Regions from separate parts of the Homo sapiens genome. Here regions 1, 2, 3 and 4 are each linked to region 5. Evidence: promoter capture Hi-C in 16 types of primary human blood cells and fetal thymus (Javierre and others, 2016). All regions are on one chromosome and are shown on one strand. The core of a region is centred on a gene start or on the middle of the fragment in contact, and the rest is flanking DNA. Distances in the headings are between cores, read along the strand shown.

Region 1 (3,374 bases), core at 571-3,070, 340 kb after region 5:
GTCTCACTCTGTCTCCCAGGCTGCAGTGCAGCAATGCAATCACAGCTCACCGCAGCCTACCTGTCAGGCTCAAGCGATCCTCCCACCTTAGCACATGCCACCACACCCAGCTAATTTTATTATTATTATTTTTTGTAGAGACAGGGTCTATGTTGCCCACAGTGGTCTCTAACAACTGGGCTCAAGCAATCCTCCTGCCTTGGCCTCCCAAAGTGCTGGGATTACAGGCATAAGCCACCTTGCCCAGCCTTAGAAAAGATTTTGTATAGAGTGGTGGTCAAGAGTCTTTGGGGCTCAGATCCCAGCTTATCACTGACCATCTGTATAAATGACCCAGGAGGTGACCCCCTCTGAGCCTCAATCTCTCACCTGCAGAATGGGGTTATTCAAAGTAGCCACCCCCAAAACCATATGGTGAGGATTAAATGATGTAAGGAATATAAAGGGCTTAGCATAGAGCCTGGCAGATAGTGAGGCTCAATAAATGTTAGTGGGGGCTATTTTTATCAGGAAAGTGCACTAATAATAATCTCTATGCTGCTGACCACTCAGGAAGATTACAGATGTGGCAATTGTGTAAAGTGCCTGACTTCTTTTTTTGAGAAGGAGTCTCACTCTGTCTCCGGGCTGGAGTGCGGTGGCATGATCTCGGCTCACTGCAACCTCTGCCTCCTGGGTTCAAGCAATTCTCCTGCCTCAGCCTCCTGAGTAGCTGGGACTACAGGTGCACACTGCCATGCCCGGCTAATTTTCTGTATTTTTAGTAGAGACGGGGTTTCATCGTATTGCCCAGGCTGGTCTCAAACTCCTGAGCTCAGGCAATCTGCCTGCCTCGGCCTCCCAAAGTGCTGGGATTACAGGCGTGAGCCACCACGCCTGGCCAAAGTGCCTGACTTCTAAATATTATTCTTGTAAGCTCTACCACCTGCCTAACAAAGAAAGGAGAAAGGAAAGGTTCCACTCACAAATTTCAGGAAGGCCTCAAGGTGAAGGTCTCTTGCCAAATTGCAATACTGCACTGCAGGCCCCTCGGGGATGTCCAGATTGTATTCGTGCGGCCTGAAGTAGAGGAAAGCCTGGACCCAGTACCAAGGAGAAACATCCAATCATGCCTGTCATGGCCATCTTACGCTGGAATCCCCTTCCACCATACCTTGAAGAGGTTTTCCAGGCTCTCTACACACCCCCAATGAGAGGGACACACACAGCTGATTCTATTCTCACACAGCTTAAGTGATTAGAAAGTTCCGCCTTAGACTGAGTCAACATCTTTCTCCTCATTCCAGTGCTTCTTGAACTTCATACATTTACATGCCACCTTTGTGGGGTTTTTTTCTTTTTCTTTTTTTTTTTTTTTGAGACAGAGTCTCACTCTGTCACCCAGGCTGGTGTGCAGTGGCATGATCTTGGCTCATTGCAATCTCTGCCTCCCAGGTTCAAGCAATTCTCCTGCCTCAGCCTCCTGAGTAGCTGGGACTACAGGCGTGTGACACCTTGCCTGGCTAATGTTTTTCGTATTTTTAGTAGACACAAGGTTTCACCATGTTGACCAGGCTGGTCTTGAACTCCTGACCTCAAGTGATCTTCCCGCCTCGGCCTTCCAAAATTCTGGGATTACAGGCGTAAGCCACTGCACCCAGCAGTGCGTTTGTTTTTTCCCATGTCCATATTCCACATGTTCTATTAATACTTTTCTCTAACTTTTCCTATTTACATCAATGCATTAAAAAAATGCCCCATAGCATTTAAATCTTCATTTAATTAGTTGCTCACATTGACGCATCAGGAGATGTCATCAAAAATCTGAAAAATACCTGAATTTCCAGGTGTGTTTTTCTTAAAGTCAGAAGAACTGGGCCCATATTCTCACCCAGCAACAACCCCCCAGAGCTGAGGAATAGCTGCTCCTTTAGATTTGATTCATGTATTCATTCATTCAGCCCTTCAAATTCCAAATATTATTTTATATTTAAGTTCACTGAAAAGTCTCATAAACAGCCTGTTAGACACTAGGCTCCTATTGCATTGGATTGCCTGTTACCTGCACACTTCACTCAGTAGCATTACCTGCCTGGCCCCTTTAGGCACCTGTTTGTCTCCCCTGCTCTAGGTGCTGGTCTGGCAGAGTTGCTCTGCGGGGCTCTGCTTCCAGTGAATTTTGGCCCTATGTGGTAGGAACTCCAATGGGCTCGGAGCTGCCCCCAGTATAATGGCCTGGGGCTGAGGAGTGCTGGCCAGCATTCTCCAGAAGAGATGAGACAGGATGACCTCATCTGGTTGGTTTCTGAGGCTGGTGCCTTTCCCAGCTTGTAGGCTGGGCCCTGCAAGCCTCCTGCCAGGGGAACCCAGCCCAGACTCGCCCTTTATGAACCCTGCAGTGTCCTCACCTGCAGATTGTCCAGGTAAGCAGCCACGTTGTTCTTCAGCTCAGTCACACACAGAGACACCCACTGGAACCTCTCTTCTAAATCATCAAATTCCTTGTCTTCTGTCTGAAAGTAATGTGTGTGAGGGTTGAGAATATCCACATGGGGGCAGTGTACACCGGCTTCAGTGTTCCAGGTCCTCACTGGGACAACCTTTCCACAGACTCGCCCACCAGAGCTGGTTCTCGCAACCCCAAAGCTGAGAGGGTGGTGTAGCTCAGTGGTTTTACATTCAGAGCATGGAATCGGATACACAAGCATGAGCCCCAGTTCATTGGCTTCCTAGCCGTGTGACTCTGGACAAGGGTTTTACCCTCTCGGAGTTTCTGTTTTCTCATGGGGATAGTGGGAACACTTATTTCATTGTGTGAGCATGCTTGGTTTCAGAGCAGGCACTCCACCAACCTGTGCTGCTAGAAGTAGCTATTTAGGGCTGGTCCTTTGCCCAAACCCAGAGACCAGCTCTCCTATCTGTGTAAATAGGCCCCAAAGAGAGTGGCCCAAGACACTGGAGAAACCCCTCCACTGGCTCTTCAGAATCAAGTGGGGTGCCACCTCTGCCTCTTCCCAGCACCTCAATCTCTCAGCCTCCATTGCCTCAGTTCTGAAAGGAGCCTAAGTCCCCTGTCTACCCACTGTGCAGGGCCTGGCCTTGGGGGTGGCTGGATGTGACTCTTCCTCCCAGGCGCACGCTCACCCTGGGGATCAGCCCCGCCTCCTGCTTCAGCAGCTGGCTCAGCCGGGTGGTCTTCTTGGAGAGGGTGTGTGTGTTGATGCGGGCCAGCCGCTCCCGGAGGGTCAGCTGCTCTACCTTGGTGTACTTGGAGGCTGCAACGACAGAGAAGAGGGGAAGCACGGTGATCAAGCCAACTCAGGAAAGTGGATGTCACGGACATGCCCGGCTGGGCACCTGCTTGGGCCCTCTGCTCCATCAGGGTCACATTCATG
Region 2 (3,349 bases), core at 273-2,772, 320 kb after region 5:
AGAAAAACAACAAAAAAATTATACCCACAGCATAAATGACAGAAAGTAAATCTGGACAAAGTGCTTTTGGCTGGTAGCTGTGATTTTCAAGGTAGGGGTGGAGGCACAATGCTCCTAAGGGGAGTGCCACACCCTGGAATCTCTGGTGTGGGAGGTGGGATGGGGGTGTGTAAAAAGAAGGGGATGGATGTTGAGATTTTTCCAATTGTGTGTGTGTGTGTATTAATGTGTTTGTATTCTTTTTTTTTTTCTCACTCTGTCACCCAAACTGGTGAGTGCAGTGGTGAGATCTCAGCTCACTGCAGCCTCAGCCTCAGCAGGCTCAAGTGATCCTCCTGCCTCAGCCTCCCGAGTAGCTGGTACCAAAGGCATGTGCCACCATACTCAGCTAATTTTTGTATTTTTTTGGAGAGACGGGGTTTCACCATGTTGCCCAGGCTGGTCTCGAACTCCTGGACTCAAGCAATCCTCCCGTCTTGGCCTCTCAAAGTGCTGAGACTTTAGGTGTGAACCACTGTGCCTGGTCTGTGTTTGCATTTGTATTTTATGGTTGCTGTTCTGACCCATGACTTTTTCGGGGAGCAGGGAGGATGAAAAATGAAAATAAAAGCATTTAGAAAGATGATTAAAAAATTAAAAAACAAAAAAGTAGGGGGAAGGTGCACTCCCACACGCCGGCCAATCAGCTGCAACCGCACCATCAGCAGACCGGGGAGGCGCCTGGAGCCTGCAGTAACTCAAGATGGCCGACTGATCGCCAGAGAGTATTTGAGGACATGGTTACAGTTACGTTCCCAGGGGAACAACCTTTGGCCTCTTAAGACATCTACTTGCTTTCAGTTTTGAAAGAACTCAGGCAGCCATGGGGTATTTTTCAGAATTCCCGGCGGTGAAGGGTCAGAGCCATGGGCATTAGGGAGAAAGCTGAAGGCACAGCGGGTGTGAGTGTGGGGTCGCTGCCTGCAACACTTGGAAGAAATACGGGGAAGGGCGGGGGAGGGATCAAAACTGGCTTGTGTGGCCAAGGATCAAGTTGTTATTAAGCACTTTTATGTGCCTGACAGAGTGCCAAAGTCTCCCGTGATGTATCCTGTGTCCACATCCCAACAACCCCATCGGCAGGACTCTTTCCTGGTTTGCCCACAAGGAGGAAAGTGAGGAAAGTGAGGCGTCAGAGAGATGAAGCAACTTGTTTGAAGGCGGCCACACAGCTGGTAAGTGTGGGGACAGGATTTGAACGAGGGTATTTTGCATGGGAAGTCTGGCCTTCTGGCTACCACCCCACCTCTTCATCCCAAGACACTCTCCCAAGTCTGGCCCCACATGGCTCCCTAAAACCATGCTGTCCTCATATGGGAGGGTTTTAAGCAGCTCTAGGGCAGCCACCAGAGCCCAATACAAAGTCCCTTGCACTGACAGTCATACTCTAACCCTGTGCCCAGTTCTCAATGCTGCCTCCTGCTATGATCTCTGTATCTTTCATCGGCCTGATCTCTCCTTCCCCAGAGCTTAGTGCTTGAACCCCAACCAAAGATTGAAACCCTGCTGCCCACAGTCTGACCTGGCTCTGACCTCTGACCTGCCTGGACACTAGGAGATGCCCATTCCCGTGTCCCACGGCAGCTCCAACTGCCTGATGGACACCTGCTGCCTCCCCCACATCCCTGGGGAGTGTGCCCCAGAATCACCATGCCCTCCCAACTCCCGTGATCCTTCACCTGACTCGGCCCTCTTCTAGCTGGATCTGTGTCCCCAATTCCAGCCCTGCCCCAGGGGAGAGGCCTGGGGCTCCATCCAGACCACTAGTCTCATGACAGCCCAACAGCGTGAGGCCCATGGCAGCTGGCTGCTGTTGAGACTTGTGTTTGGTCTTTTAGCTTGCAGCTCTTGAGAGCTTCCTATGTGCCAGGCATTGAATTAGTCCTGTAAAGTGGATTCCCTCGTTTAACCTCAAACAGCCTTGTGAGTAGTGAATAGATGCTGCAGTTATTGCTATTAACGTGCTGCTCTATTCCCACACCAGAGGCTCTACTGATGTGCCCAGGAGCCCTGAGACCCCAAGACCAGCAGCTTCTGCCCTGGCCAGAAGCCCCATCCCACTTCCCATTTCCCAAACCTGGGGCTCACTGCCCCTTCTGAGTAGGGGCCAGACACATGCTGCTGAGGCATCATGGCTAGAAAATTGTGTTTCCTCCTCCCCTCCCCCAGGGCTGTAGGGCCTGGCCCTTCCCCAAACCCTGGCTCTGCACTGACACAGTGCCCTTGGATTTCCTCTGTGTTTGTCTGCTCTGGGCCTGGCAGTAATGGTCTCAGCCAGCCAAGACTGGGGCAGCTCAGCAGACTACCACAGCCACTGATACTGGAGCATGACCAGCTCAGTTCTTCTGGGACTGAAGACATTCCAAGAGCTCCATGTAGGAATGGCTGACAGCCCCCTGAACCAGGGAAGGTGCAGACAGACCTAGAGATGATTTCCATTGTTCCCCAAGGGCTGGGCTGCCTGAGGGACCAGGTACCAGGGAGGTGCCAGGGATCCCATAGCACCAAGACCCAGCCCCTCCCTGCAGCCCTGGCTTCTGAGTGGTATTTTGCTGTCCAGTCAGAAAGCAGAAACTACTCTATGCATTAGAACAGAAGGAATTTGGGCTGAGCGCGGTGGCTCACACCTGTAATCTTTGCACTTTGGGAGGCCTAGGTGGTCAGGAATTCCTGAGGTCAGGAATTCGAGACCAACCCGGCCAACATGGTGAAACCCTGTCTCTACTAAAAATACAAAAATTAGCCAGGAATGGCGGCGGGCACCTGTAATCCCAGCTACTCAGGAGCCCGAGGCAGGAGAATTGCTTGAACCTGAAGGAGCTGAAGGTTGCAGTAAGCAGAGATCATGCCACTGCACTCCAGCCTGGGTGACAGAGCGAGACTCCATCTAAAAATTTTTAAAAAGAACAGAAGGAATTCATTCTGGGGAGTAGGTTACACAGGTGAAAGATCTGAGAAGCACCCCAGAGATGAACAATAGCAAAAAGACATTACAACCCCTCCACTGGAGGGATGCGGGGAAGATCCTAGTGTCTAGGATCTGGTGTCACCAGACAGAAACTGGAAGCACAGCCAGGCCTGTTTGATGGGACGTGGGACCACAAGGGAGGGGCTGTCCAGTGGGAGCTGGGACCACAGAGGAGACCGGCCACTGTCAGAGATGCTACCTGAAGCAGAGAGGGGGGAAACTGAGGCATTTCTCCCACCTGCCAGTGCCTCCCATTGGCCAAACCTACCAGGCAACCAGAGGGGAGGGGAGCCGGGGAGATGGAGTTCCCTGCAGCACAGAGCAGAGCAAGGCAGGGAACAA
Region 3 (3,135 bases), core at 10-2,509, 290 kb after region 5:
GTTGGCCGGGCTGGTCTCCAGCTCCTAACCGCGAGTGATCCGCCAGCCTCGGCCTCCCGAGGTGCCGGGATGGCAGACAGAGTCGTGTTCACTCAGTGCTCAATGGTGCCCAAGCTGGAGTGCAGTGGCGTGATCTCGGCTGGCTACAACCTCCACCTCCCAGCCGCCTGCCTTGGCCCCACAAAGTGCCGAGATTGCAGCCTCTGCCCGGCCGCCACCCCGTCTGGGAAGTGAGGAGTGTCTCTGCCTGGCCGCCCATCGTCTGGGATGTGAGGAGCCTCTCTGCCTGGCTGCCCAGTCTGGAAAGTGAGGAGCGTCTCTGCCCGGCCGCCATCCCATCTAGGAAGTGAGGAGCGTCTCTGCCCGGCCACCCATCGTCTGAGATGTGGGGAGCGCCTCTGCCCTGTCGCCCCGTCCGGGATGTGAGGAGCGTCTCTGCCCGGCCGCCCCGTCTGAGAAGTGAGGAGACCCTCTGCCTGGCAACCGCCCCGTCTGAGAAGTGAGGAGCCCCTCCGCCCGGCAGCCACTCCGTCTGGGAAGTGAGGAGTGTCTCCGCCCGGCAGCCACCCCGTCTGGGAGGGAGGTGGGGGGGTCAGCCCCCCGCCCGGCCAGCCGCCCCGTCCAGGAGGTGAGGGGCGCCTCTGCCCGGCCGCCCCTACTGGGAAGTGAGGAGCCCCTCTGCCCGGCCAGCCGCCCCATCCAGGAAGGATGTGGGGGGGTCAGCCCCCCGCCCGGCCAGCCGCCCCATCCGGGAGGTGAGGGGCGCCTCTGCCCGGCCGCCCCTACTGGGAAGAGAGGAGCCCCTCTGCCCAGCCAGCCGCCCCGTCCGGGAGGGAGGTGGGGGGTCAGCCCCTGGCCCGGCCAGCCGCCCCGTCCAGGAGGGAGGTGGGGGGGTAGCCCCCCGCCCGGCCAGCCGCCCCATCCGGGAGGTGAGGGGCGCCTCTGCCCGGCCTCCCCTACTGGGAAGAGAGGGGCGCCTCTGCCTGGCCGCCCCTACTGGGAAGAGAGGAGCCCCTCTGCCCGGCCAGCCACCCCATCCGGGAGGGAGGTGGGGGGGGTCAGCCCCCCGCCCGGCCAGCCGCCCCGTCCGGGAGGTGAGGGGCGCCTCTGCCCGGCTGCCCCTACTGGGAAGTGAGGAGCCCCTCTGCCCGGCCACCACCCCGTCTGGGAGATGTACTCAACAGCTCATTGAGAACGGGCCATGATGACAATGTGGAATAGAAAGGGGGGAAAGGTGGGGAAAAGATTGAGAAATCGGATGGTTGCCATGTCTGTGTAGAAAGAGGTAGACATGGGAGACTTTTCATTTTGTTCTGTACTAAGAAAAATTCTTCTGCCTTGGGATCCTGTTGATCTGTGACCTTACCCCCAACCCTGTGCTCTCTGAAACATGTGCTGTGTCCACTCAGGATTGAATGGATTAAGGGTGGTGCAAGATGTGCTTTGTTAAACAGATGCTTGAAGGCAGCATGCTCCTTAAGAGTCATCACCACTCCCTAATCTCAAGTACCCAGGGACACAAACACTGCGGAAGGCCGCAGGGTCCTCTGCCTAGGAAAACCAGAGACCTTTGTTCACTTATCTGCTGACCTTCCCTCCACTATTGTCCTGTGACCCTGCCAAATCCCCCTCTGCGAGAAACACCCAAGAATGATCAATAAAAAAAAAAAAAAGAAAGAAAAAGAAAATTGGAAAGGCTTCAGGATTGTCAGTTAAATATAATTGTTTTTGCCTGGGTCTACTGACAGACAGGTTTACATTGTCTCTATTACTTTTTTTTTTTTTTTTTTTTTTTTTTTTAATTTGTTTTTTGTTTTTGAGCTGGAGTTTTGCTCTCATTGCCCAGGCTGGAGTGCAGTGGTGAGATCTCAGCTCACCACAACTTCCGTCTCCCAGGTTCAAGTGATTCTCCTGCCTCAGCCTTCCGAATAGCTAAACTACAGGTGTATGCCACCATACTTGGCTAATTTTTGTGTTTGTAGTAGAAACAGGATTTCACCATGTTGGCTAGGCTGGTCTCGAACTCCTGACCTCAAGTGATCTGCCCACCTTGGCCTCCCAAAGTGCTGGGATTACAGGCATGGGCCACCGTGCCCAGCCTATTACATGTTTTAAGGTCATAAAACTGCTACTTCTGGAATATTTCTTAAACTTGCTTGATTTGTCTAAATTGAGCTAAAGCTGTAAGGTCTGGCTGCTGGGCTCCCTGAAACCTTGCACATATCTTACTGTATGACTGTATTTCGTTTTGAGTCTCTGGATTCTGGGGTTTGGACAGATGACCATAGTGAGGCCTGCAGAAATATATGCATGTCCTCAGTGTTTGGACTGCCAGCTGCAAGGCAGAGCCAAACCCAATATGGCCCCATCATCCCTGGCTCAGCTGTGCTACCTGGCCATGCTGGAAGGGGTTTGATCTTCCAGGAATTTGCTTCACAGCTCTTTCCTGTCCCAAGCTCTATGCCTGATGTGTAAATTCAGGACCCAAAAGGGCACAAAAAAGCAATAACTACTAAATATAAAGAAAACAACTCTGTATACAGCATGTATAAAGAAAAGCAAGATATATTTGGGGAGATAAAAGTTGTAAAGGCATTAAGATGTGTGTTTGTTGAGAAAAAATAAATTTGTGCATTTAAGAAGTTAAAAAAAAAAATAACAGGTGGGACTGTTGGGGCTTCTAGGAAATTAGCTAGCCATCAGCTTGCTACCTTAGATTCTTGGCATTGTTTAATTTAAATGTTTGGTTTCAATTATTTGTGAGCAAACCAGAATGTTCATGGTATATATTAGTCATTGTGCTGGGTCCAGATGTAAATCATGGCCCTGGGAAGCTGGTATGCTGGGAAGAATAACAACAGTCTGTAAGCCTAGCCTGCTGCCCAGCAGGTACAGGTCAACACTTGTCACCTATCCTGACATTCTCCAGGGATAATTTTTTTTAAAAAATGGCTTTCTACAAGATACACTCGTTGAAAAATAAGCCGACTTGTGTTGGTGATAAAAGGGAAGAGGAAGACAAGTCTAAGTGTGTGTTAGTTCTTAAGCCAAAAAACAGAAGTTTCAGATCAACTGAAGAGTGGAAGATTAGACTCAGTGGTGGCTCAGAGCCTAAAAGTGACAGACTCCACCTAA
Region 4 (3,356 bases), core at 637-3,136, 360 kb after region 5:
CCCTGCCTGAGGGCCTGCAGGGGCTGTGGTTGGAGACCTGAGGAGGGGACAGAGCCCAGCCCCTCTCCTGTGGCTGAGCAGGCCTCTGTGTCCATGACACCTGTCTTCGGGGGCCTGGGGGCTGTGGGCGTATGTCCTCCCTGCTGGCTCCCCCAGCCCCTGCTGCTTGATGCTCTTGGAACTCTTCCCTAAGGAGTCAGTCCCCTAGAGGCCTATCAGGGAATCCTTTTGTATCTGCACTTTGGGTTTTAGTTTCAAAGCTCCATCAGGTACAGCTCACGTTTCAGGATGTGTGGAAAGCTTGAGTGAGGGCTCCCCTGGTTTGTCCTAGTTCCACCTTCCTTAGAGGGAGAAGGCTGTTGCAGACCCCCATCCATGCCACACCAGCTCAGCACTGCACATCTCAAGGTGATTCCCAAGACAGCTGGTGCCTCCTGGCCTTCCTGCACCAGGCCAAGGGGCACCTCAGAGGATGCTGGATCCTTTGCCTCTTCTTGATTGAGGGATCTCTCTATATATGAATGTGTGTATATAAATATAAATATACATATATATATACACACACACACACATATATATATCTATATATCTATATCTATATATCTATATCTATATCTATATCTATATATAGATATATATATATGAGATTTATTTTTTCTGGAATTCTGTTAGAAAAGTAAAGAAAAAGCAAATGCTATTGATTTATCTCAGGGTACCCAAAGAGGTTGTAGTCAATTTTTGGTACTAGGAAAGGCAGCAAATGCATTTCCTGACTTTTAAGCATTTCCTTGTTGGAAGCCATAGAGGGCCAGGCCAAGTCGCTGACAGTGACTTTGTGATCGAATAAAGAGACCCTTGAAGGGGAAGCAGGAAAAAAAGAAGAAGAGGAGGAAGAAGAAGAAGAGGAAAAAGAAAGAAGAGGAAGAAGAAAGAAGAGGAAGGAGAAGAAGGAGAAGGAGAAGAAGGAGAAGAGGAAGAGGAAGGAGAGGAAGAGGAAGAAGAGGAAGAGGAAGAAGAGGAAGAGGAAGAAGAAGAGGAAGAGGAAGAGGAAGAAAGAAGAAGAAGAAGAAGAAGAAGAAGAAGAAGAAGAAGAAGAAGAAGAAGAAGAAGAAGAAGAGTCAGTTTAAGCAATCTGTTCCAAACTTGAAAAGGGCTTGTTCATTAGCTCACATAGGTCTCCCAGTGATTATTCCGCTCACCAGTTAGCCAAGGAATACACTAAGACTCTAAGCCATGGAAGACCTTGATGGAGGTTGCACGGCCAAGGAAAAGAAGTACTGGGGCTTACATCCAGGTCTGTCAGACTTCACATCTACCACGCTTCCTTTCTGTCAAGCTTGCCCCAGGAATGGATGAGAAATCTCAGAAGCTGGGACCCACATTTGCCCCTATAAAGACAGGTTGTGTGTGACCCCACCCAAGTACCTGCTGGAGGCGGCTCCTGATGTCAGAGGCACAGAGCTGGAGCATGTGCAAGTAGGAGACCTCAGTGTCGATGAGCTCCCGGACAGCCAGCCTCTGATGAAGCAGCGATCTGTCCTCAGAGGCCCTACCTTCCCTGTCCGGACTCCCTGACCTGGAGGATGGCTCGTCGGCTCCATGCTTGGCCATGTCAGCAGGTTCTGGGAAAAGCAAAAGCATCCCCACTCACTTCCAGGAAGAACTATTGGGACATGCTGTCTCTAATTCAATGACAATTACTCATCAAGAGGCCTAAAAACATCTTAAGCTGCAAACAGAGTCAAGATGAACTGTTTATTAGCATTTGTAGGCAGTACCTGAACAATATTGAAAGGCAGGTAACAGCTCTGATAACTCTTGACATTTTAGGTGGTGGCTCATGCCTGTAATCCCAGCACTTTGGGAGGCCAAGGTGGGCAGATCACCTGATGTCAGGAGTTCGAGACCAGCCTGGCCAACATGATGAAACCCCGTCTCTACTAAAAATACAAAAATTAGCCAGGCATGGTGGCGGGCTCCTGTAGTCCCAGCTACTCAGATACGCTGAGGCAGAAGAATCACTTGAACCCGGGAGGCAGAGGTTGCAGTGAGCCAAGATCACACCACTGCACTCCAGCCTGGGCAACAGAGCAAGATTCTTACAAAAAAAATTTTTTTTTAATAGATAATTCTTGACATTTTGAATTCATTTCCCAGGACCCAGACAACATGCTTGCCTGGCTTTTCTTCTATTTCCAATCCAGCTCTTGACCTAGATTTCTTTATCTGGTACAGCTGAATCTCTTTCACCCTCTCCCAGTGGTCCCCCTACACCCCATCCCACCAGCTACCCCATTTAGGCCTTACTACCCATCGCCTGGGCTATTTCCACAGCCCTCAGAGTCATCCTTCCTAATCCACACTGCTCTCCTGCCACCACCACACCCATTCTTTCTGGACACATTTCCAGTTTAAACTCCCTGAAACAAAGCTTGTGAACATGGTGTGCCCTGCTGTAAGACTTTAGTAGCTTCCTGCTGCTCAGTGATCTGATTCCAACCTCATTTCCCCTTCACAGACTGCACTCCAGGCTCTAACTTCATTTCCTCTTCACAGGTTGTACTGCAGTGGAAAGAGAGTTGAGCGCTCTTCTCCATACTTGCATTGGCATTTCCTGCTTTTGCACTTGCCATGCCCCCTCCTGTGTTCCTATCCCCCAGCATTCACTTCTCTAAGGCTACTCTTGATCCTCCCCTCATTTCTCACTCCCACCAGCTGCACTTTTCTTCTCTGAAACTCCTGCAATCCTTTATCTCTAACTTATAAAGTATCAAGGGCCCGGGTGCGGTGGCTCACGCCTGTAATCCCAGCACTTTGGGAGGCTGAGGTGGGCAAACCACCTGAGGTCAGGAGTTCGAGACCAGCCTGGCCAACATGGTAAAACCGCATTTCTACTCAAAATACAAAAATTAGCCGGGTGTGGTGGTGCACACCTGTAATCCCAGCTACTCGGGAGGCTGAGGTAAGAGAATCACTTGAACCCAGGAGGTGGAGGTTGCAGTGAGCCGAGATTGTGCCACTGCCCTCCAGCCTGGGTGACAGAGCAAGACTCCATCTCAAAATAATAATAAAGCGTAAAGGGCAATACCATGGACAAGATGATCTGAAAAACTTTCCTACTACAAAACACTTAGGAATGCTAGATCAGTTATAATAAACTTTTTAACTGCATGACAGATCTTGTAAGGGAGGAAAAGAAATCACTAGGGCCCTCAAACAGGGAATTGAAAACTACGGTGGGGAGCAGCTGAGCTGATGCAGCTGTGGCCCAAAGTAGAGGGGTGGGTAAGGAAGACAGTATTTGAAACTCAGTGAACCAGAGACTTGGGCATTAGTGCCCAGGTAGGAATAGGAGA
Region 5 (3,119 bases), core at 599-3,098:
GCACTTTGGAAGGCCAAGGCAGGAGGATTGCTTGAGCTCAGGAGTTTGAAACCTGACTGGGCAACATGGTGAAACACCATCTCTACAAAAACTACAAAAACTAGCCAGGTATGGCAGCGTGCACCTGTGGTTCCAGCTACTCAGGAAGCTGAGGTGGAAGGTTTGCTTGAACCCACGAGGTCAATGCTGCAGTGAGCCTAGATCGCGCCCCTGCACTCCTAGCCCGGATGACAGAGTAAGACCTGGTCTCAAAAAAAAAAAAAGTCAAATCAGAAATTAAAAAAAAGTGATTTTTTTCCCTCAAAAATTACCCCTAGCCCAGAGTATGTTCACCTCTAGATCTTCCCCTAGGAGGCAGCACATTACAGTACAATAATTGTCAAATACAGAGAGCCGTTAGCTTCTTAGGACCATCCCTGCAAATCCAAGGATGAGATCCAGGACTCCACACGCTAGATGATGCTGAACGAGTGAGCTTAGGACCACACTTGGAGAATCACTGGATGTGTTCTGGAAGTCAAACAGATCTCTGTTCAGATCCCAGCTATACTGCTCAGCAGTCATATGGCAATGGTTTTGTAAAACTTCACTGTACTCAGCATCAATTTCTGACCTGTAAAATGGGGTAACATTACCTAACTTGCTGGTTTGTAAGGCTAACACAACTACCTACCACAGTGCCTGGCACATAGCATTTACTCAATAAACGACAGCTATTAGTCTCTGTCCCTTGCTATATCCTGCCTTGAGATTCCTGATTTTAAAGGGTCCATTCCTTTCCCACAGCTTTGGCCCTCCATTTCTTATTGATTCAATTTTCAAAAACAAAAAGTTCTGCTTAATCTAGTATTGCATATCACATTAGTTGTAGATTTCACATAAAGAACTGTTGGGGACAAGGAGAAAAGACAGGTTAACTAGAATGGGCGCCGGAAGGCAATTTAAGTTCTGAATGTTTCTAACTCACTGTGATCCCCAATCTGTGCAAGGAAGGAGCCCAGGCTGATAGTCTATGAGTTTGGAGAGCTGGGTACAAGTCCTAGCTCTGCAAAAGACTTGCTGTGTATTTTTAGGCAAGGCTCTGGGCCCTCTCTGTCTTCTCAGTGTTTCCATCCATCCAGTGAAATAATACCAACTTAGTGTGTGAGTCCGAAAGAACAGGTCCTGATTTTGTACTTAATCGGGTGTGTGATTTTTAATAACCAAGATAACCAAGCCGTCTCGCCTGTGCCGGCCTCAGTTTCCCCATCTGTCCGAGGTGGTGGTGGCTCCTATCTCCTCGATCCCTATTCCAGATATCTAGGTTCGAGACGGATCAACGAGGACTGGAAAAGCAGCGGAGTGCGTGGCACCCGGCGAGATACGGCGAGATACGCGGGATGGAGGGCGGGTGGGCAGCCGCCAGCCAGACGGGCAGGCCCGGATCACCAGGGTGCAGTGCCACTCGCCCGGCCCCGGACCACCCGGGAAATAACCTGACGCACGCCCCGCTCCACGGCGGCGACCCCTGATCTGGGATTCTACCGCGCGGGGACCCAGGCAGAATGACTCTGGGAGGGGCCCGCTGACCGCTTGGCGGCCAGCACCGCTCCCTCCCTCTTCCCTGGTCCGCTTCCCTCTTCTCACCTCTCGGGTCCGGGCCGCTGCAGGCAACCAGGCGCCGCGGCACGCGTCTTCCACCGTGGCCTGACTGAGGTGGACACCGCGGCGCCGACAGAGCTATACCTGCCTGTCCCTTTCCCCGCCCATCGCTCGGACTCCGAAGGAGGCGGGGCCCGGCTGCCGGGACCTACGGGCGCGGCGAGGACGCACCGGCGAAGAGATGCCGGAGGCAGAGCCAGTGTAAACGCCCGCGGCCGAGGCCGTCACGTGGTACTGCCGGGCGAGCGACGCTACCACCAGCCAATAACTCGGCCCAGACCGGGGAGGGTGCCGCCCTCTGACTACTCTCCTCCTCGCGATTGGCTGCCCTGGACAGAAGAGCACAAGCTGGAAGGATTCTTAGAGAGGTTCCGCCGCTGCTTCCGTGGCGTTGACTCCTCCGCGGAGAGAGCGGATGACCGGCCTCGGCGGCTAGCCTGTGGCCAGGGTGAAATAGCAGGAGAGGCGCGGAAGCGCTCTGCCCAGAGTTTTGAAGTGCTCAGCGTTTGCGATCGGCCACCTCTTTATCCAGTACTACTTGGGACCCCGTTCCCTCCCACCCGCCTTTGTAGAACGGGAAATTGAGGCCCCGAACGGGAAAAGAGCTCCTAGAATGTTAGAGGCTCTTGCCTCACTATAACTCATTCCCCATCAAAGATTCCAGTAACCGGAAGGCTAAAATGTAAATTAAAAGGCCGGGCGCAGCGGCTCACGCTTGTAATCCCAGCACTTTGGGGGACCGAGTAGGGAGGATCGCTTGAACCCAGGGGTTCGAGATCAACCTGGGCAGTATAGCCGAACCTTGTCTCTATAAAACATAAAATGTAAATTAAAATGTAATTGTAGTTTTTGTTAAAATCCTTAGTGGGTTTAATGGCATTTGTAGGTAAAATCAAACCCTCCCTATGCCAAGGTACTGTGTGCTTCGGGCACTCATCTCTGCCCCCCTCCCTCGCTGATCTCCACCCATACTGGCCCCCTTTGCTCGCCACGCTTGTTCTCTTTAGGGACCTAAACATTGGTTCTGGCCATCAGATTTCTTCTGGTCTCTCAGGTCTCAGCCAAAACACCAGCCCTCTCCATGGCGAGGCCGTCCCTGACCACCCTGTGTAAACTAGCCACAGCCAGTCACATCCTTTCAGGTCATCTTGATTTAATTATCTGCCTCGAACTGGCCACTATTGAGTATGTATTAATTTGTTCATTCCTCACCTTGTTTGTAGCTTGCATGTGCCCACTAGATGGGGGTGAAGGAGGGCCTGTGAAGGAAGCATGATTAACTTCCTTTCCTTCCCTTTCCGGTGAACGTCTTCACAGTCATTCAAGGAACTCCCTTTCTTATCTAGAGATGATCCCCAAGTTTCTGTCACCCATCAGATTCAGAGTTTCCAAAACGTCATAAGCTGTCTTGGGAATCAGAACACAAACACTTGGGTTCTACTCCTGATGCTGCCCCTTGTGGCTGAAGACAAATCATT

What was found. Contacts are between HindIII fragments. The CHiCAGO score rates a contact against its expected background, and 5 or more counts as called.
Region 1: a fragment that was not itself captured here is called in contact with the fragment with the promoter of SLC26A2 in region 5 in 4 of 17 cell types (M1 macrophages, M0 macrophages, M2 macrophages and 1 more); the score reaches 8.3 in M1 macrophages.
Region 2: a fragment that was not itself captured here is called in contact with the fragment with the promoter of SLC26A2 in region 5 in 14 of 17 cell types (M2 macrophages, M0 macrophages, M1 macrophages and 11 more); the score reaches 15.6 in M2 macrophages.
Region 3: a fragment that was not itself captured here is called in contact with the fragment with the promoter of SLC26A2 in region 5 in 2 of 17 cell types (erythroblasts and megakaryocytes); the score reaches 6.5 in erythroblasts.
Region 4: a contact is called between a fragment that was not itself captured here and the fragment with the promoter of SLC26A2 in region 5, in 3 of 17 cell types (erythroblasts, M1 macrophages and megakaryocytes). The highest score is 6.3, in erythroblasts.

The regions. Positions count from the first base shown.
Region 1 is chr5:149,618,056-149,621,429 of GRCh38, reverse strand. It overlaps ARHGEF37 (Rho guanine nucleotide exchange factor 37), which reads right to left. Exons shown (of 13, transcript NM_001001669.3): 6 at 3,124-3,254; 7 at 2,388-2,492; 8 at 966-1,076. Among named protein-coding and RNA genes, the nearest start is that of ARHGEF37, 38 kb to the right of the region's middle. RefSeq lists an enhancer at 3,072-3,341. The HindIII fragment of the contact is 5,427 bases long and covers 1-3,374 here.
Region 2 is chr5:149,638,864-149,642,212 of GRCh38, reverse strand. LOC124901104 reads left to right here and starts at 732. Exons shown (of 3, transcript XR_007058990.1): 1 at 732-941; 2 at 1,065-1,214. The HindIII fragment of the contact is 4,395 bases long and covers 1-3,349 here.
Region 3 is chr5:149,668,075-149,671,209 of GRCh38, reverse strand. No RefSeq gene overlaps it. Among named protein-coding and RNA genes, the nearest start is that of PPARGC1B, 61 kb to the left of the region's middle. The HindIII fragment of the contact is 4,581 bases long and covers 1-3,135 here.
Region 4 is chr5:149,596,025-149,599,380 of GRCh38, reverse strand. It overlaps ARHGEF37 (Rho guanine nucleotide exchange factor 37), which reads right to left. Exons shown (of 13, transcript NM_001001669.3): 2 at 1,426-1,622. The coding sequence starts at 1,611. Among named protein-coding and RNA genes, the nearest start is that of ARHGEF37, 16 kb to the right of the region's middle. The HindIII fragment of the contact is 1,095 bases long and covers 1,339-2,433 here.
Region 5 is chr5:149,959,487-149,962,605 of GRCh38, reverse strand. SLC26A2 (solute carrier family 26 member 2) reads right to left here and starts at 1,848. Exons shown (of 3, transcript NM_000112.4): 1 at 1,627-1,848. RefSeq lists a silencer at 1,793-1,912 and enhancers at 2,953-3,032, 2,829-3,119. The HindIII fragment of the contact is 4,280 bases long and covers 1-3,119 here.